3 separate regions of the Homo sapiens genome follow, and all the other regions are linked to region 2. Evidence: promoter capture Hi-C in human tissues and cell types (Jung and others, 2019). All regions are on one chromosome and are shown on one strand. The core of a region is centred on a gene start or on the middle of the fragment in contact, and the rest is flanking DNA. Distances in the headings are between cores, read along the strand shown.

Evidence for each region. The method cuts DNA at HindIII sites, captures the fragments that hold promoters and counts their contacts. A contact is called where the count stands out against the background at its distance.
Region 1: a contact is called between a fragment that was not itself captured here and the fragment with the promoter of CDH4 in region 2, in 2 of the 25 tissues and cell types used here (H1 embryonic stem cells and dorsolateral prefrontal cortex).
Region 3: a fragment that was not itself captured here is called in contact with the fragment with the promoter of CDH4 in region 2 in 2 of the 25 tissues and cell types used here (H1 embryonic stem cells and spleen).

The regions. Positions count from the first base shown.
Region 1 is chr20:60,856,041-60,860,579 of GRCh38, forward strand. No RefSeq gene overlaps it. Among named protein-coding and RNA genes, the nearest start is that of LINC01718, 220 kb to the right of the region's middle. The HindIII fragment of the contact is 6,282 bases long and covers 1-4,539 here.
Region 2 is chr20:61,249,077-61,253,775 of GRCh38, forward strand. CDH4 (cadherin 4) reads left to right here and starts at 3,185. Exons shown (of 16, transcript NM_001794.5): 1 at 3,185-3,494. The coding sequence starts at 3,438. The HindIII fragment of the contact is 10,940 bases long and covers 1-4,699 here.
Region 3 is chr20:60,943,416-60,947,835 of GRCh38, forward strand. No RefSeq gene overlaps it. Among named protein-coding and RNA genes, the nearest start is that of LINC01718, 130 kb to the right of the region's middle. The HindIII fragment of the contact is 6,910 bases long and covers 1-4,420 here.

The DNA.
Region 1 (4,539 bases), core at 1,441-3,940, 390 kb before region 2:
ACTTGACAACTATGCCCAATAAATAATTCAACAGAACAAAAAAAAATGCATATGTATGCATGTGTACACCAAAATCATTATCTGCAGCATTGTCCTTAACAGTAAAAATTATACATAACTGAAATTATTAGGAAATGCCCTCAGAAACGATGTATGTTGAAATAAAAGAATTTGATCTATTCATTAAGTTGACGATATAAAAGCTATAAAAAAGTAAAAATGCAAGATGGCATGCTCATAAAAATTGCAGCGTGAAAAGCATGCACTCACAATCTGCAATAGAGTCAGAATTGGATACAAGTGTCCAACAACAGAGGCCCAGTTCAGAGAATGATGCTCCATCAACTGGATGGACAACCAGGCAGCCTGGAAGAACCACAGAGCAATGTTGGTCAGCATGGAAATCATTTTATTACATCCCACTAGTGAAATAAAGCATGCCAGAAAACAGTGTACACACTAACTTTGTAAGAAAGTATGTACACACACACACACACACACACACACACACACACACACACACACACAAACACACAGCTGTACTCCAAACTCCCAGAGAACAAGAATTGCTAACCTGTTGTTGGGTACTTTTCTTTCTTTTTTTTCTTGTGTATGTATGTGTGTTCTTTTCTGTGTTCAATTATCTGAGTGGCGCTCATGATTGTAAAAATATTATTAAAAAATAAACTGCTGTGATAAAAATGTTGATAGCTATTTATTTATCTTTTTAAATATATATGCACATAAATCTCAAGATAGGAAATGAAAATATTTGTGCTAATGTAATTTCTTAAAATCAGGTATAGAGATTTAATATTGCTTTTTAACTTGTATTTTTAATTAAAAATAAAAATAGATTATATGCATTTTCTTCCCTCTTAAAAAAAGCCTTCCTAGAAGTTCTGATTACGCATAAACACTGTCTGCGTGTACATGTGAAGCGCAGATAATTTTATTTGAATTAATGTGGTTAGGCAGCTTCTTCCATGCACAGCTATCACACCACAGTGAAGCATCCAGGGCATCAACAGCACAAATCAGTGAAATGAAAAAAAATATTATTGTACTGTTTACCAACAGATCTATAATTACAAAATAAATTAACCGTGAAATGAAACACTTTGGGTTTTCTGCAATATTGTTGTGAGAGACTGGGTGATTCTTTTTTTCAAATTAATTCTGAGAAAGCTTGAATGTGAAATATTGCAAAGAGTATTATGTTTTTTTATTCTTATTTTTTATCTTTTTTTTTTTTAAATATCAGCACATATCAGTGTGACTCAGGGACACACTTTCATTTTCAAAGTCAAAGCTGCAAGCTAGGTGGTCACTTTGAAGAAGAGGCTGGGACATGAAAAAGAGAAAAAGTTCCACCAATGGAAAGCCCCCATCATCTGCAGGTGACAGGCCTAGATTGGAAGAATGACATTTTCTTTATTCTCCTGTGAAGCCAGAACTCTGAGATCTCACCTCAGGTCCAGGGAAACAAGAGGAAGAAAGACTGATCTGCCCCCTTCCAAACAGAGGATTCTAGTGTCCAGTTGACTGACATCAAGATGGCCTTGCAGGGGCAGGTGCTGAAGCCATCTCCATAAACTATAAAATTAATCAGGGCAGAAGGGAGGGGGGAAATTAACACAAACGAAGCTTGTAGCACACTCAGCATTCGTTATTAGGACAGCTCACTCTCTGACCACTGCCCCATCGTCGTTTGCTACCTGTTGCCCCAGAATCACAGAGATCCTGCTCTGTAGATAACAACGTAAGCATGGTGAAATGTTCCATTTTCCATTTGAGGTCTTCTTTCATTTCCTGCATCAGTGAAATGACTGATGTCAGCTGGCCTGAAGGGCCCCACAGGAATCTGACTCATGGAAGAATGAATGCAGTTTCCACATCCTGATGATTTCATACCCTGGACTCCAACCAATCAATGGTCCCAATTTTCCTGCCTCTCACCCTCCATGATTCCCTGAAAACTTTCAGCCTAAAGCCCCTCGGGGGGACAGACTTGAGGTTCCCTCCTGTCTCCTCCCTCGGCTGTCATGTGATCATTAATCTCTTTCTTTGCTGTAAACCTTGCTGCCTTGGTGGATTGGTCTGTTAGTTCACAGGAGGCCCAGGAACCTGGAGGTCCTGTAACCGTGCCTTTGGTGAGTTTATATGACACAGAGTGAACATACTTACTGGAGCATTCTATGCAAGTATGTTCCAGGACCACTCCCTCCCAAATCCGTCCTCTTTAGAGGTGTGGCAGTGGACACAATCTATCCTAGCAAGAAACTCAGAGTGATTATGATGTAAATGTCCGCATGAAAAGATGTAAACTAGTTCAACCCTTGTGGAAGTCAGTGTGGCGATTCCTCAGGGATCTAGAACTAGAAATACCATTTGACCCAGCCATCCCATTACTGGCTATATACCCAAAGGACTATAAATCATGCTGCTATAAAGACACATGCACACATATGTTTATTGCAGCATTATTCACAATAGCAAAGACTTGGAACCAACCCAAATGTCCAACAATGATAGACTGGATTAAGAAAATGTGGCACATATACACCATGGAATACTATGCAGCCATAAAAAATGATGAGTTCACGTCTTTGGAGGGACATGGATGAAACTGCAAATCATCCTTCTCAGTAAACTATCGCAAGGACAAAAAACCAAACACCGCATATTCTCACTCATAGGTGGGAATTGAACAATGAGAACACATGGACACAGGAAGGGGAACATCACACTCTGGGGACTGTTGTGGAGTGAGGGGAGGGGGGAGTGATAGCTTTAGGATATATAACTAATGCTAAATGACGAGTTAATGGGTGCAGCACACCAGCATGGCACATGTATACATATGTAACTAACCTGCACATTGTGCACATGTACGCTAAAACTTAAAGTATAATAATAATAAAATAAAATAAAATAAAAAAAGAAAAGATGTGGCTCCAGGTTTCTTTGCTTCTAAGAAGAAAGTACATAAAAACAAACTCTCTTGGGGGAAAAAAATGCCCAACTTCCTCTCTGAAAGCTCACAGTGCATGTCACACAATTCATCACTTTATTCAGTCAGCTGTGTGCCTTTTTCTCCTCTTTTTCTACTTAGGTTTTACTTTTTATTTGGTGTTAAGCTTTTAACTTTATGAGGTGTACATTTTCTGTTATAAGCAGAATGTGTGTGGACCTCTATTGTACCACTATCAGGAAGAAATTGACCAGGAATGACATGTCTGAGTTCAGACAAGGAGGCTGCTCTTATTTACCAAATGGCCAGCAACCCTGCAGCTAGGGCATCCCTCCAAGGGAGTCATGCCCCTTCCAAAAAGGTCGCGAAGGAGCTCGCCATGAACACAAAGGTAACAGCAACATCGTCGTCAGAGCAGTTTCGGAAGTGCTCATACCCACCAAGGGCTGGGCTAGTAATTTCCCCTGCATTGCCTTATGTTATTCTCCCTAAAGCTCAGAGAAGGAGGCATTATCCAGCACCAGCCCTCTTACCTGACTCTATAGGAAACAGTTGCCAGTAGCTTAGTTGAAAAATCAGTCAAGATGAGAAATCATGAAGTTACGCATATAATCTAAATATTTCAAACGTGAAAATGCACATATTTTCCAATATTTTGAAATGATCCCAAAGTCTTACCTTAAGTACCGCACCTCTGATTACAGTTCTTGAGTGTGTTTTTTCATCCTCCTGTCACCAATCATAATGCATTGTCACTATGTCACAGTTCCAGTGTCTTTATACACAAGCAATAACTTGAAGCCATATGGGAATGACCTAGAGCAGGGGCCTCCAACCTTTTTTGGAGCCAGGAAGCAGTTTCGTGGAAGACCATTTTTTCCATGGACCAGGGAGGGGGGTGGTTTCGGGATGATTCAAGCACATTACATTTATTGTGCACTTTATTTCTATTATTATTACATTGTAATATATAATGAAATAATAACACAACTCGCCATCATGTAGAGTCAGTGGGAGCTCTGCACTTGTTTTCCTGCAACTAGACAGTCCCATCTGGAGGTGATGGGAGAAGTGCCTCCTGAGTAGCTGGGATTACAGGTGCCCACCAAGACTGCCCGGCTAATTTTTGTATTTTTAGTAGAGATGGAGTTTCGCCATGTTGGCCAGGCTGGTCTTGAACTCCTCAACTTGTGATCCACCTGCCTCAGCCTCCCAAAGTGCTGGGATTACAGGCATGAGCCTCATCGCCTGGCCATGGATTACATTTTAACGTGAGATTTGGGTGGGGTCAAATACCCAAACTCTGTCACTGTCCTTAATGGTGTGTCCTCCACTCACAGCTTTTGCTTCCACACCTGACTTGACAGCACTTACTCTTTGGTGATTCACTTTCTGAAATGTTTAACTGAGCTTTCACAAAAGGAACTCTCTTTTTGCATTCCCATTTCATTGGTTTATACAGTATTTAGTCAAATTACATAATTATGATGTGATATACAATTAAATAAATTGATTTAGGAAGAAACACAACTGAATGTCATTAAGGAGATCAGACACTGTTGCCG
Region 2 (4,699 bases), core at 1,935-4,434:
CTGCTTTCTGTACAAAACAGCCTTTTTGTCGAACATTGAAGTGTCTACAATAATAACTATCAATAGGGAAGGAAACAAATTAACATCCAACGAATATAGGGAAATGTGGCCCTGATACAAGCACTTGGTTTTTGCTTCTAAAGAGGAACCCCTTCCCAGACTCACCTCATCGAGAGGGAGACAGAGAAGTCTATCAAGCTTAGCAAACATCTGTAGTCCAATTACTGTCAACAGTTTACAGGTGTTGAGAGCAAACAGTCACTTATACACTACCTCCCAAATGCATTCTCTTAATCTCTCTTAGAAACAAACGCACACATTTTTCTAGGGCTCTTTATCCAAAGTGCAGAGAGACTAGCTCCTCCTCCAGGCCAGCTGTGGTCTTCCCTGCACTGGGTGGACCAAAGGCAGGCCACAGTCCCACTGGCCAATGTGCCAAACACTGTGCCAGGGTTTCTCCAGCTACCCCAGGCAGAGGCCCAGGCTCCACCCCTGGAGGTCCAGGTTCTGGAAATCCAGGGTGGGGCATAGGAGAGAGCATTTTTCTGATGCTTCCAGCTGCTGCTCTGTTACGTGGGACATACTGTCTGTGGGACAGGCCGTGATTCTCAAATGCTAGTGGCATGAGCATGGACTGGAGAGATTGTTACAAGGTCAGCTTCCAGGCCCCACTTGCAAAAGCTCCAAGTCCATGGATTTCAGGTGGAGCCTAGGAACTGGCATTTTTCATGAGTTTCTCTGTGATTTTGTTGCAGATGATTGCAGACCAGAGGTGGGCGTGGCGGGGAATCCCATCAGCATTCAGAATCAATGTAGCAGGTCTGGGGTAAGGCCTGAGTTTCTGCATTTTTAACAAGCTCCTGGGGGATCTTGATGCTGCTGGTCTGGGGACCACACTCAGAGTGACAGGCTGAAGACCATTCTTTGGAGGCACTGCTTTGTATTTTAGGTCATATTTTTCTTTTCTGTCTCAGCAATCTTTGCTGCTGCATTCAGAGTAAGTCTGATAAACCAATGCTCTCTACTGGACTCCTGTCAGTTACTGCAGTGTTTCTGAAACTATGTATTTCGGAAAATGCGAGTTCCCGTAAGACATTACAGCTGTGTAAGAAGGTTTCTTTGAACAAAGTTGGGGCCATGCTGCGTGTGCCAGGGTCCCAGCTCTGGGTGAGAATGCTGGCACTGCAGCTTTCCCCGTGCCTGCCCTCTGCACCCTCCTCTGCCTGACTGTATAGTGGAGTTAGAAGGACTCCAAGAGCAACTTTACATAAAGCTCCTACACATGTCCCTGGCACATAGCTAGCACCTTGTAAGGACAGGCTATTGTCAAACTCTACCCTTTCTGGAAATCACGCTGCAGTAGACTCAAGATTCATTCAGTAGTAGAGGGAGATGTGCTTAACACAGTGTTTGGAGTTCAGGACCCACCTGCTCCTGGACCCCAGTCTCCCTGCCACACACTCATACCTTTTCTTTTTCAAATTGGCGCGCTCCTCAGCGCTTCAACAGTTTCGCAGAGCACGTTGGAGCAAATGCGGGGGTCTGTGATGCCTCTCCAAAGAAATAACTCGCATAATGCTCAGGCCTCCTGCAGACAAAGGTGTATCCCCAGCGACAGATATTTTAAGAAAATAGACCAGGGACACAAGACAAGAGAGCTGTCTTGGTGTCTAAAGCAGTCTTGGACAGCTTCTGATGTCGCTCGAGCAGTGGTGAAGCACCTTGAATAAGGAGGAAAGCAGAGGGGGCGTCTTCCCAAAGGACGGGCACATGGCCGAGGAATGGAATTCTCTGTCCATGAGGATTTTGGATGGATCTGTTCATGAAACCTCACTGGCTACGCAGGACCTTCGAGTGAGTCTAAACCTCCAGCCATGTCAACTGGTAACCTCTCCTTCTTCGGCTAGGTGGGGAGTGGGACAAGGCCATAACTGATAGGAGTCCAGGCTGGGGCAGATTTTGTGTCTCCTGACTAGTTCCATAGTTAAGTTGCAAAACCGAATCTCGCCTTGTGCTCTCGGATGTAGTGCTTACTCTGGTCCTCTGGGGTTATCTAAAATCTGGTTTCCTTAAGCGTAAGGCAGAGCTCTAACCGGGAGACCACCCTGCCCCCAAGGGTGGGGGTTCTGGGAGGGAGAGAGGGAAGCGGCTGCTCTGTAGCTTTCTCTACTGGCTTGCCCAAGTGGACTCTGATCTTGGAGCTCAACAGTGTCACTCAATCTTCCACCCTCTCCTTTGCAACCTATTTCTTAAACCAGAACTAATGTATTCTGGACACAGAGTCCCTGAAACCCCAGACAAAGAAAATTCGATGTATCTGAACAAACAAAACCGCGTTTCTTTAAATCTCCAAGCCAAAAGGAAAAGTGCAGAAACATTTACTCACTGTCCGACCTGTACATATATTTTACCTGATAACCCTTAAAGAAGTGCCCCCCAGTTCAGCCATCACCCATGCAGGGCAAAGGGAGCTGGAGCTGGCCCAGCCTGTCGGCGCAGACACTCCTGACAGCTCCTGTCTGGGCACTTCTTTCTTTCTTGGAGCTTCTAATTTCTTTCTTGGCTTCTGAGGCCTAACAGGGTGTTTTGATGCACACACAGGAATTACTACCGTCCCCAATCCTAGGGTACATCCCTAGCCCAGGCCAGGGCTTTGAGTTTTCCTAGGAGCGGGAGGGTCTGCAAAGCCCCACAGGCTGAAATCTCAGCGTGGCCCTCTGCTCATCTGCTCCAGGTGGAAACTCTCACCCCTGAGCTGCCCGACCTGGGTTCAAGCCCGGGTCAGGGGAGTTAGCAAGGAGACACCTGAAAAATAAAAGGACAGAATGGAAGTGCACACTCCCACCGCGGGCCCGGGCGGGAAGTCGGACTAAGACCGCGGCGGGACCGCCCCATCCAGAAAGGGTGCCCCGGGTGTGGGGGCGGAAACCCCAGCGCTGTCTTCAGTCTCCACACCCGCGCCTTTTTCCCCTGGAAAACGAGCGTCCTTGGCCTCTTCGGCCGCAACCGGGCGGCTCCAGACGTCCAGGAGGGCAGAGGCTGGGCTGGTGCGGCGCGGGGGGCGCGGGCGCGGGCTCTGCGCCTTTAAGGCCCGCGTCGGCAGAGCGAGCGCAGGGGCCGGGCGGCGGGGCGGGGCCTCGGCGGGGCGGCCGCGGCTTCACCTGCAGCTCCGAGCGCGCGGAACAGAGGCGCGGGCGGCTGCGAGGCCGGCGGACGCACCGGCCCGAGGGAACGCGCCGCCGGCCGGACTTGGCCTGGCTCCCGGAGCCGGGGCGGCGAGCGCGGCGGGCGCAGCGGGGCTGGAGGCTCCGGGCAGGCGCGGGGGAGCGGCGGCGGCGGCGGCGATCGGAGCGGCGGCGGTGGTCTCGGCGGCGGCGGCGGCGGCGGCGGCAGGGAGCGGGCTCCCGGTGCCGGGCACCGGGCGGGCGGCGGGGAAGATGACCGCGGGCGCCGGCGTGCTCCTTCTGCTGCTCTCGCTCTCCGGCGCGCTCCGGGTAAGTTGCCGCCTCCCGCCCCCGCCGTTCGGAAGCCCCGGGCAGCGGGAGGTCGTCCCCGGATCCCGCGGGGCGCTCACACACCCGGCGGGGCTCTCCCGGGCTCCCCCGCCGCGCTCCCCGCTGCATCCAGCCCGGCGCCCGCGCTCGGCGAAGCTGCCTGCGGTCGGCAGGAGCGGGAAGCCGCCTGGGCAGCGGGGAGCGGCGGAGCAGGGTGGGAGTGGGGCTCGGTGGAGGACCCGGGGAGCTCCGCCTGCACCGGACCCGCCGAGCCTCCCTCGAACGCCCAAAGCCCGTAGCCGCTACCCGGAGCTCGGCTTGCCTGCATGGGGCAGGCTTCCACTGGCGGAGCCGGCGCGCCCTCCATCGCCCGGGAGCCGCGCGCCGCGGGAGTTGCCGAGCCCAGCCCCGGCCGTGGCTGAAGGCGTGGGGCGCCCGGCGGCTGCGGGCCAGGGATCCGCGAGTGCGGGGCGCCTGCCCGACCTCTCCTGCCCAAGGCCTGGGGGTCCGTCTAGCGGCGCCGCTCAGTTCTGTGGGTGCCGGCAGGACCCGCGCTGCGGGTGGGCGGCGGGGTAGGACTGCGGGGCACTCTCACCCCCGAGCCCTCGGCGGGGCTGGAGCCTGCGTGTCCGGCGGGGCCCCGGGGGCTGGGAGCTGGGCCGGGCTTGGGCCGGGAAGCCGGACGCCGGGCGGGCGCGGCGCGGGAGGGCGCCCCGGGAGGGCGAGCGGGTCTCCCGCTGCCTCTGCAGAGCCCCGCGGGCCGGATTGCCAGCTTTGCTCTGCGCCTGGCGAGGTGCGCGGCCCGCGGGGGCAGAGAGCGCGGCGGCTCCGGGGGCGCCCCTGGGCGGAGGCGGAGGGGCGGCGGGAGTTGCAGGAACCCCCTCTCGTGGCCGATCGGCCTCGCTGCCTTCTCCCGGGCAGCGCTGTTGTAACCTCGGAAATAAACAAGTGCCAGCGGCGGGAGGCCCGCTCCGAGGCCGCGGGGCGCTGGGGGACGCGCTGGGCACACGCTTCGGGCGGGCGGAAACTTTCCTGGGCGAGTTGAGCCTCCCACCGGGCTGCGGGTGCGATTTGGAGCTTCGTGGCCGATGAAGAAAGCCGCGGTTTAGAGCTTTTCGTAAGGAATGACCCTGCGTCCCGCTCTCCTCCCTCGGTGCTGGGGGTAGAGGGGCGCCCTCCGCGGTGCCGGCGTCGGGAAGCCTGGA
Region 3 (4,420 bases), core at 1,275-3,774, 310 kb before region 2:
GGGCAGCGGTGGTAGGGCATGAACCACAGGATGAGAGAGGTGCTCCAGAAGTCTTCTTGTAGAGCAAGAGACCAATGTTGTGCTTTTTGTTCATGGCCCTGTTGTTGCATGTTTCTCAGCTGTACAGCCCATAAATGACATCTTGGCTTTAAGAGATAAAAACCCAGCCATAGACTTGTCTCATGTCGGCCCACACAGAGAAACTCCTGGGGGACTTGGTCATTGGACAGACCATGGATTTAGTCTTGGCAAATAGATTTAGTTTCCCCAACCAGCTGAAAGAGGGTCTGTTTCTGTTGCAGTCTAATCAATGCACATATGGGTTGCTTGTTCAATAAAAGAAACTTAAGTGGAGATATTTAAGGAACTTGAGAAGTATTCAAAAAATCTAAAGCAAAAATGGTTTAACTGCAGACACTGGCATGTAGTTCTTAAGGTATACAATTAGGAAAATTTGTACAGTAATTAGGTCAGTTAACGAGAGTTCCATGTTCATCCTCTTCATTAGCTAAGCCTGAGAATTTTTCTTTTCTTGCCCAACATCTCAAAATTCTTAGTTTGAGCTGATTTTTCTGATAAATTCTTAGAAATTTCTGGTTGAGGCCGGGCACAGTGGCTCATATCTGTAATCCCAGCACTTTGGGAGGCCAAGGTGGATGGATCACTTGAGGTCAGAAGTTTGGGATCAGCCTGGACAACATGGCGAAACCCCATCTCTACTAAAAATGCAAAAATTAGCCATGCATGGTGGCGCATGCCTGTAATCCCAGCTACTCTGAAGGCTGAGGCACAAGTATGGCTTGCAGCTGGGAAGTGAAGGTTGCAGTGAGGCGAGATGGTCCCATTGCACTCCAGCCTAAGTAACAGAGGGAAACTGTGTATCAAAATAAATAAATAAATAAACTAATAAATAAATAAAGGAAAATTTCTGGTTGGCATGAGGTCTTCCTATTAACAAAAGCTGACAGGTGAGCATTTTATGTACCAGGAGTATTTGCCAAGCTGACCCCAGTGATCCCAGTCTTTTGCCAAAACAGGTGCAGACCATAGAAAGTATAGAACCTGGTCAAACCAAAAGCAGCCCCTATTCACAATACAGTGCCCCTCTATCGTGGGACTCTCCTTTGCTTGGCTTTCTAACTTCAGCTCCCACTACTGACATCATCACACTGCTCTCAGTCTCGGCCTCTGCTCTGAAGAGCATGGTCTCCCCTGCTCCACACTGCACAACCCATCATCTTTCAGACATCTCTTTCTCAGCTTGGGTTCTCTTTCACTGTCTTCTCTACTAGTCGTATTTCTATTCATCTTTCTGCGTCCAACTCAAACCCTTCTTCTCCCAAGTAGAACCTTGTAACCTCTGTAAACTTGCATCCTATCAAACTTCTTAGTGCCCATTTTCAATAGTAAGTGTCAACGTTTGTTTTTAATTCTCTCTCTCTCTCTCTCTTTTTTTTTTTTCTTTTGAGATGAAGTCTTGCTCTGTTGCCCAGGCTGGAGTGCAGTGGCGTGATCTTGGCTCACTGCAACATTGGCCTCCCAGGTTCAAGCAATTCTTCTGCCTCAGCCTCCTGAGTAGCTGGGATTACAGGCACACCCCACCATGCCTGGCTAATTTTTGTATTTTTAGTAGAAACGGGGTTTCACTATGTTGGTCAGGCTGGTCTCCAACTCCTGACCTCAAGTGATCCACTCACCTTAACCTCCCAAAGTGCTGGGATTATAGGCATGAGCCACCGTGCCTGGCCTAATTCTCTCTTTCAATACATAGATTTTGGTTTCCCAAAACCAGTGAGCATGGACTGCATTTTATATGTATTCAACAAGTGTTTATTAAGTAACTAACATCAGTTGTTCATTATTTGTAACTTAAATAATATGAAGTCAATTGGCATGATTAAAGCTCTATGGTCTTCTGCAAAACAGCAATGATCAGTTACCAATTGCTTTCTTTAAGTATAGCGTGGAGAATGGAGTTGAAAGTGACCAGCATTGTGGCCTTTGTTCTGGGGGGTGCCTGCCATACTGATGGCAGCTGCTGCTCCAGACAGCCTGTCACTGCCATCACGTTGGCTGCAGCAGGGAGGCATTGCCTGGGCTGCACGCCCCATGGAGCCAGCGGGAGCCCCATCCCTTCTGAGTTGGGGTGGGAGCTCCCTGGGTGCCGCTGCAGCTGCCCAAACTGCCTGCAGACCCAGGCCACTGCCCCATTGGCCTGGGAAGGCCCCCTGCCCTTGCAGGCTCAGAAGTGCCTGCTCCCACTGCCTGGCTGCTTTCTGCTGTTGGTGTCTGCTCCAATCTCAGAAAAGTTGGGGCAAAACCTGGGCATCATGAATGGCAGCAGAAGGCAGATAGGTTCCTGGGCAGAAGGGGATGGGTCCCTGGTAAAGCCAATCCCATGGACTGGAATGAAGACTTGTGGTGCCTTTTCTGTGTCCTCCCATGGCTGCCCATGAGCCGGCTGGCACACACTTTCTCCCCTCTGTGGTCCATAGAAGCCCTGGGCTTTACCAGAGCAGGCAGAGAATGGAGAGATGACAGGATGACCAGCAGCAGACAGGAGTGGGAAGACCACTGCAGATGATGGCTGCAGAGATGATGGGGACAACCTGATGGTGGAGAAGAGCCACCCTCTCCAGAGTCTCTGCTGCGAGCTGAACACTTGATGGGATGACCTGCATACAAAGAGGAGCTACCCATTGTAAGTCTCCCCTGAGCTGTTCTAACACTCAATAAGCTTCTCTGTCTTGCTCACCCTCCACTTGTCTGCATACCTCATTCTTCCTGAACGCAGGACAAGAACTCGGGAAAAGGTGCCACTGGCCACAGAGATTTCTGCCCAGAAAAGCGACACCCCAACGATCCTGTAACAATACCAATGCTATTATCCCAAAATAAGCTGGACATATTCCTCAGTGTGGAATTTTGGAGAAGGCGGTAGACGCAGCATTGCAAGGTCATGTTTCTACCTGTACTCTGATCTGTTTTATTGGCTTTGTAATTTTTCTCATACTGTCTATTTTCCTCTCAATAAAACCTTAGAATGCTCTTCAATATGTAAGATAAATAAAAGCCAGAAAAACAAAAGTTTGAGTGGTCACTTCACCAAAGAATATGTACAATTGAAAAATAAACATATGAAAAGATACTCAACATCATTAGTCACTAGGAAAACGCAAATTAAAATCACAATAAGATACCACTACAACTATTAGAATGGTTAAATTTAAAAGAAAATCCCACTGTAACACCAAATGCTGGGGAGAATGAGGGGCAGTAGGAGCCCTCACTCCTTGCTGATGGGATGAGTGACATATCATGACACAGCCACTCTGGAAGATAGTTAAGAGTTCCTTATAAAGTTAAACTTACCGTAACTCAGGACCACATTCCTAAGACTTTATTGGAGTAAAACTAAAAAACCCCTGTTCACACAAGAGGCTGCATGTAAATGTTTGTGGCAGCTTTATTAAACATCTCCAAAAACTGGAGACAATACCAATGTCTCTTAATTGGGGAACTGAAAGACAAATGGTGGCCCAAAATAGAGGTCAGAAATAAAAGGAAAGAACTCTTGATTCATCAAGGAAGAATCTCAGGTGAATTACGCTACTTGAAAGAAGCTAGCCCCAAAACACTGCATACTGTATGGTTCAATGTATACGACATACATCTTGGAAAAGGCAAAATGACAGAGACAGAAACTAGATCAGAGATTGCCAGGGGCTGGGTGGGGGATGGAATGTTCTGTATCTTGATTGTGGTGCTAGTTACATGACTGTACACATTCGTCAAGACTCACAGAACTGCATACTGAAAAGGTTGAGTTGAACTGTGTCTAAATTATATCTTAGAAAAAAAAATATATATATATATTTTTTTTTGAGTCTCGCTCTGTAGCGAGGCTGGAGTGAAGTGGCTTGATCTCAGCTCGCTGCAACTTCCACCTCCCAGGTTCAAGCGATTCTCCTGCCTCAGCCTCCCGAGTAGCTGGGACTACAGGTGCACGCCACCACACCCAGCTAATTTTTGTATTTTCAGTAGAGATGGGGTTTCACCATGTTAGCCAGGATGGTCTCAATCTCTTGACCTCGTGATCTGCCTGCCTCAGCTTCCCAAAGTGCTGGGATTACAGGTGCAAGCCACCACGCCCAGCCAAAAAAAATATATTTTTAAAGCTAGCAGGTCTGATTTTAATTAAGATTTGGAAGTCTACCTGCCCAGGCTTCCCAAGGTGCTCCAGTCAGATCCTGGGTCACCACCAAGTCCCACAGAAACCAGTTTGGAGACCTGTAGACTAGCTCCTCACTGAGCCATTTCTGGATCTCCAACTCTCTGTCATCTTTCACCTGGGACCCTCATGGGAGGTGGATGCAGCAGATTCTCTGAAATCCTACTTTTGAACACTGTCGTTTTCATC